2 separate regions of the Homo sapiens genome follow, and region 2 is linked to region 1. Evidence: promoter capture Hi-C in 16 types of primary human blood cells and fetal thymus (Javierre and others, 2016). All regions are on one chromosome and are shown on one strand. Each heading gives the region's core, a stretch centred on a gene start or on the middle of the fragment in contact. The rest is flanking DNA. Distances are from core to core; before and after follow the strand shown. Region 1 holds the start of FAM174A (family with sequence similarity 174 member A). Region 2 overlaps LOC124901037 (a long non-coding RNA gene).

Region 1 (3,539 bases), core at 533-3,032:
ATGGAAAGAAACATTTTAATAGCCTTTTTATATATGAGTGGTTATTCCTTTATGATACTACTACACCAAAACTTGACAAGCAGTTTCTTAAAGATTAGTTGCAATGTGGAATCTGAAACAATATCAATGAACTACTTGTACCCTATAAGCCTGTAACAGAATGTATTATTTTGAAAATAGTTTTAATACTGTAGATGCCCTGAAGAGGTCTAAGTGAAACTCCCACCTGTGTGGTTCCCTGGCCCACATGTCAAGAACCACTGGCTTACACTATTTTTTAACTAGCCAAGTGATGTTGGTTTTCCATTCATGATAATAACGACTTGTTTAAAAGGAAACTTTTGCTTTAAATAATCAGTTTAAAGAAATATGTTAAATTACAATACAGAGGGTATTTATGGGAAAAACGTGAATTTTGAAAACAATAAACAAACATAAGCTGCAAACCTACCCTCTACACTTATTTTATAATGAAATAAACTGCTAGACAGCTTTCCCTCACCTTATCTCTTTGCTGGCTTCTCCTAATGGTGAGGTCTTGGCTCTGTATGTCAACTCTTCAGGAAGGTGATTCTCTGCCACTTAGGTGGCAGATTAAAGGGCAATACTAGGAAACACTGATAGTAAGGAAGAACTTTTCTTCTCCTGAATTTTATAAAAATAAAATATCCATAAGGCACCTCTATATTACTATTAATCCACTCAAATATATATTGATTTCCTATTAAGTGGCAGCATTGTACAAATAATTTGTAAGACTCACAAACCTACTAAATAGATATCCTGTCTTTAAAGAGTTTGCATTCTGATTGGCAAAATTTTGACCAGTTAGGTATACAAAAATTTAGACTAGAAAGGTAGAAGTATTACAAGACAGAGTAGTCAAAATTCTAGGGAATAAAGATTATCCTCACTTCAGAGAAAGGGTGCCCTTTGAGGCTGACGTGGGTTGTAGGTCAGATGAAGAGATTTGGAGGTAGGGCACTCATTTATAAACAAAAGGCAGCAATTAGTTATAGGTTTAAATTGCTCCAAAGGTAACAGGCCTTTAAGAAAGTCAATATCATATTCTTAAGCAGGAGTCCCTGATGCTGGGGAAGGGGGAAAGGGTCACAGAAGTCAGCCTTGCTGGAGATCACCGGCCTGCGTATCTCAGGCCCACGGGGGTGCCCCACCGAGGCTTTGCCTCACCTGACCGTCCTGACCACGAAGTACACCAGCACCGCGCCGCTCACCACCATCAACACGGTCAGGGCCCGCTGGGTCATGGGCTTGTCGCCAGGGTTGGGGCTCACAGCAAGGCCGCCACCCACCGAGCCTTCCCCGGCCTTCCCTCCGTGATCGTCCGTCTCAAGCCCGGCCACAGGGTTGCTGCCATTGCCTCCCTCGGAGCCCCGCGGCCCCGCAGCTTCAGCCAGACCACGGCCCGGCTGCTGGGCAGGGGTAGGGCCCGGTGGCAGCGGCGGTAATGTCCGTGGTCTAGGGTCAGGAGGCCCAAGACCTGGCGCGGCCTCGGCTGCCTGCAGCAGGACTGCCAGGGGCCCGCTTAGTTCAGGCAGCAACAGCAGGAGGAGGACGGAAGCCAAGAGGTGGCTGAGACAGCAGCAGCACTGCGAGGCCTTCATCGTTCCCGGACCGCTCTCTCACCACCCGGGAGCCGCCAGGCCCGCCACGCTGGCTCCAAGAGGGACCATAGGCGCGGTGGAGAATGAAGCAGAGGTGACCAAACGCCAGGGAGAGGCCCGGTCGTGGCAGGTGGCAGAAGCTACAGCAGTGGCAGCTGCCCGGAGAACCGGAAGTTCGTACATCTCAGCGGCCACTGCTGCTAAGGACGCCTTCGGTTGCTAACTTGTAGGGGCGGATGCACTTGGTGACGTCAGAGGCCTAGCGCCCAGTGCGCACGCGCACTTGTGTAAAAAGCGAGGACGTGACCGTTTTGGAAGCATTGTTCTTTTCACTGTTAGTGAGGAGCGGTCAAGGATGCGTATTAAGAAAGTAAGTAGACAAAAAGAGATTGTGTAAAATGTACAGCAACTCTCTCATGCAGGAACCCTGAGAGATTGGAAACTCATAATCTGAATTCATTGGTGTCAAACTGCAATAACACATTTAATCTGTAAGCCAGAAGGGCTTAGTTTTCCTTAGCTTCATTACAAGCTTTAAGCAGGCTTTTTTTCCTGCCTATGGGTCCCTGACCTCCCTTTCTAAAGAGCATTTGCTTGTAATGAGTTCATGTCCTTTGTAGGCACATGGATGAAGCTGGAAACCATCATTCTGAGCAAACTATTAGAAGGACAGAAAACCAAACACTGCATGTTCTCACTCATAGGTGGGAATTGAACAATGAGAACACTTGGACACGGGATGGGGAACATCACACACCGGGGCCTGTCGTGGGGTAGGGGGGAGGGATAGCATTAGGGGATATACCTAATGTAAATGACGAGTTAATGGGTGCAGCACAGCAACATGGCACATGTATACATATGTAACAAACCTGCACGTTGTGCACATATACCCTAGAACTTAAAGTATATTAAAAAAAATTACTTTAGAAAACTTTACCATTGTAAGTTATTTCTCTTCCCTTTTCAGATGTAAATATTTTTTAAAGCTTCTGGCCAGTTATATAATTGAAAACTATCTCAAGGGTATGGAAAGCCATCATGCCTTTGAAATATAATCAGCAAGGAAGGTAGTGGGCCATCTCTTATTTTGTGTGAGAGGAAAGGAACCTAACTGTTGTAGGCTTCTCGCTTCAAGTTGTAAAACCACCTCCTGTCATGGAGGAGAAAATTTACTTTTCCTTTGGGTAAAGTCAATCAGCAAACTCAGGTGGCCGGTGATCTTCCCAAAATAGCTCTTAATAACTCTCCACTCCTTTTTTTCTTTTAGAGGAGTTGAGATTAGAAGAGTTTTATCCCCTTTCCCAACAGCAGTAGTCTTCAATAATGTCTTCCTTGCCTGTTTGACTTCAGTAATATGGAACTTCAATTTGTGCAGATAACTAGAAGTGGCCGCATGATGTACCTCTCACCAATGAGATGCCTGTCAAGGGTATACGTGGGTCTTTTGAGTAAGTTATTGTTTTCATTGCTAAAAGAGAGACAGATACAGGTAGATATATACAGAGAGAGAGCCAGAAACACACACACATGCATACACACACCTACCTCTCTCATTATTCCTTTCCCCCTTTCACTTGCCTGCCCTCTCTGCACAGAAAGTTCTGGCCCTAACCTTGAAAAGAATATGACCCAGCTAGTCCTCTGATCCTAGTAGACTGTGGGATATCTGGCGTAAACTATGACTAAACCTATAGCCTGGCACCAAATGCAGCCAAGGTTAGCTTAAGTTAGTCAACCCCAGCTTGACCAAAGAAGTGAAAAATAAATGCTTATTTGCTGTATGCCACTGATATTTCTATGGTTATTGATTATGCCACATTATTCTAGCAATAGTTGATTAAGAAGCTAGAATCAAATCATGGTATTAATTAGGAGAATATAATAATGTGGCAGTAACCTGATACAAATTTC
Region 2 (3,539 bases), core at 502-3,001, 2.7 Mb before region 1:
TCATTGGCTAGCCATATGCAGAAGATTGAAACTGGACTCCTTCCTTTCACCATATACAAAAATCCATGCAAAATGGATTAACTACTTAAACATAAAACCTAAAATTACAAAAACCCTAGAAGAAAACCTAGGAAATACCATTCTGGACATAGGCCTTGGTAAAGATTTCATGATGAAGACTCCAAAAGCAATTTGCAACAAAAACAAAAATTGACCAATGGGACCTACCTAAACTAAAGAGCTTCTGCACAGCCAAAGAAACTATCAACAGAGTAAACAGGCAACCTACAGAACAGGAGAAAATATTTGCAAACTATGCATCCAACAAATACATAATATCCAGAATCTAAAAGGAGACCTAATAAATTAACAAGCAAAAAACAACCCCATTAAAAAGTGGGCAAAGGACATGAACAGACACTTTGCAAAAGAAGACATACGCATGGCCAACAAGCACATGAAAAAATGCTCAACATCACTCATCATTAGAGAAATGCAAATCAAAACCACAATGAGAAGTGGAAAATATTAGTTATCTTTAGGGAGAAACAGCTGATGGCCTGGGGACAGGGTTGGGAGGTAAACTTTTCATTATACATTCTTTTGTATGTTTTGAATTTTGATTATGTAAAATAAATGCCCATTTTAAAAAATTAAAATTTTAAATGTCAATGAAACATTCTCAACCAAAGCTTGAGACTTTCCAATTGCTAACAGTCTTGATTAATCTGTTAACTTTCTAGTCAGAAATTATATGAAGTTTTTTAGCTTTCTAATAATGAAGCTACTACAGTATTGCAACTTGTTACTCTTCCCAAGCACTTAGCCAAAACCTTTATCTTTTGAAATTATGATTTCAAAAGATCTCTATACTCATCTCTATACTCATTCTTTTCCTGAAAAAAGGAAGTTAACAGAAAAAAAAAGCTTTGTTCCTATTGCTGTAAAATATTTGCACATTTATGGGTCAGTTGAAGCAGCCTTGACATCTTATCATGTCACTCAATTACTTTACAAGATACAATGTGATACAAATCTCAGATGATAGCATGGACTTTGAAAGCATACAATCTAGGATTTCTAGACATGTGACATTGTTCAAATTATCTGACCTATCTAACACTGTTTCCTTATCTAGAAAACTAATATTCATTTTTCCAGATTGCTTTCAGTATTAATATAACTTATATACCTGAAATGTGGGAGAGGCTTAAGGAGAGCTAAAATTATAGAAAGCAAAAGGCTTAGTTCTAAAAAACAGAGACCCACCAAGACAACTAATAGTGGGAAGGCTTTATGGACACATACGTCAGAAAACAAGGGCACCTGTGAGGTAAGCTAGGGAGAACAGACATGGCTCTATACAGCAATGTAAAGTGTGTCCCATCTTTCCATATTATACTGCAGTTAAGAAATAGTTTATGTTCCTTAACATGAATTTAGACTAGAGAAACAAACATATTTAGGGTACAATTTAAAAGGGTTTTCCCCTCTCTGTTGTAGTGAATTTTCTTTAATAACTCCAAATTCTTCAGGGAAAACTTCCACCCACACAGCAGTGATGACTGCTGGTGCTCTGAGGGAATTACGGCACATAGTAATAAAAGATGTATAGAATTTCTACATCAGCAACGTGAAGTCCAGCCCAGCACCCTAGTATGGAGAACAGATGGAGTTCCAGAAGGTAGAAGCCCATACCGGAACTGGGGGCAGTGGAGGGGATGCCATGTGGAAAATTGGTTGCCAAACTGAGGCCTCAGAAATGAATGTGAAATAAACCTTCTCCTTCACAAATATTGTAGAGAGAGTAGAGCCTATGAAGTTGGAGGAGGTTGCCACACGGATTATACTCAGTAGACACAAAGCATCTCAACTTACTACAGGAAAACCACCTTTAATGAAAGCAACCACAGTTCCCACATTCACCTCTCCCCTTCTTTTCTTGGGTGCTTTCATTAATTGCAAGTAAACTTTCAAAGTCAGAGAACTATCAGCCGTATAGCCACCTAACGAAATAAGACAACAAATAAATGTGAATTCATTTTAACAAGTGAATGCCTATTAAATCAGTAGATCAACACTGGCAAAATGCTGTATCTATAGTGCTCCCACTTTAATTGAGGATGGCACCAACAGAGCCCCAGTTCCTCAAGACATCAAGTGAGTGTACATAAAACCAAACTTATGAACATATAAGTGACATTTCCTTAATATTTCATATTTCCATATTGCTTCAACAGCCACATGTTAGATGTGTTTCTGAAATAATGTTGGTAAAGAAGAATTATTCAAAATAAATATTTTACCATAAGTTTCCAGTTGCTATTTAAAACTCCCCACAATAACATATAATAACTTGAACATTCACGTCTCAAAGTATTCTGCCTTTGTCAATGCATAATTTACATGCACTAAAGTTCAAACTATAATTTAGTTGAAAGGACAAACCCAGAACTTTCACATACACATTTAATAACAGTACACATAATGTACGCTACAAGGTGATTATCATATCTCAGACTTCTTCCAGTTCTGAGAGACTTTTATATTTAAGCGATCATCCTACCTAAGCTTTCAACAGAATTCATGACTAGAAGACTCACAGGGACATAATGGTACGGATCCTGATGTTCACTAATCTCAATCTCGCTACAGTTATTTATGAATAAGATAGTCGTATTACCTTCTTCTGTTACACGAGACAAAGGCTTGGAAGTGTTAAGAGGTATGCAATTAGGAAAGATGAACTAGTGTTCAAAATCACCTTGCAGTTTCTTTTCTCTCTCATCCTAGGCTACTGTTTGTGATTGTCTAAATAAAAGGATTCATCCACGCATTCCCTGGAAAAATTTACTACCCAAGTTCACACAGGACAAATTTGGAGTAGAAAATCCATTTAATTACTTCTCTTGGGAAATATCGCTTCTGGCAGAGAAACTAATGTGATATTAGAAGGCTGCTTATTCGGAATTTGTGTAAGAACTACACATACCACGTTGGGTTTGAGCAAATTATCAGGGTCTCTTTGTTGGCCCACTGGAGTCCTTTTTCCTGGGAAATGCTGAAGACAAGAGTCCTAAACTGTTCCCAAGCCCAGGTTTTCTCTCCTCCAAGTTACCCTTTCTGTTCTTTGAACATCTAAATATTTACTCAAAAAAGACTCCTTACTGTCTTACAGAGAGAGACTCTGTATTAACCTCTTTTAACATCTGACAGCTTCTAGCCTTTTAAGGAAGTGATACCTCCACCTATCACAATTTAGCAAGTTTAATCTATTATACAAGTTATCATGTTAACTACCATTAGCAAACAGTAGGACAACTGTGACTTCCTTACAAGGCATTGTGATTTTTGTACTATCACCTTACTGATTACTCTTGAAATGTAAGCCCATCTTTAATACTTAACATCCACAACATCCACAAGTTATAAAACTGCTTTTTGGTTCATGTGTTCTTCAGTAACAGTAAGTAAAAAACTGTCTTTAGAGACACTCTACATATTTTTCAACCCTTTTGTCATCACCAGGAAAACCTTTG

The links. Contacts are between HindIII fragments. The CHiCAGO score rates a contact against its expected background, and 5 or more counts as called.
Region 2: a fragment that was not itself captured here is called in contact with the fragment with the promoter of FAM174A in region 1 in 1 of 17 cell types (total CD8 T cells); the score reaches 5.3 in total CD8 T cells.

Annotation. Positions count from the first base shown.
Region 1 is chr5:100,533,617-100,537,155 of GRCh38, reverse strand. FAM174A (family with sequence similarity 174 member A) reads right to left here and starts at 1,782. Exons shown (of 3, transcript NM_198507.3): 1 at 1,192-1,782. The coding sequence starts at 1,625. It overlaps FAM174A-DT (FAM174A divergent transcript), which reads left to right and starts at 1,913. Exons shown (of 5, transcript NR_172939.1): 1 at 1,913-1,995; 2 at 3,004-3,076. RefSeq lists an enhancer at 1,524-1,823. The HindIII fragment of the contact is 3,135 bases long and covers 1-2,159 here.
Region 2 is chr5:103,244,305-103,247,843 of GRCh38, reverse strand. It overlaps LOC124901037 (a long non-coding RNA gene), which reads left to right. Exons shown (of 2, transcript XR_007058894.1): 2 at 1,504-2,047. Among named protein-coding and RNA genes, the nearest start is that of MACIR, 13 kb to the left of the region's middle. The HindIII fragment of the contact is 1,644 bases long and covers 930-2,573 here.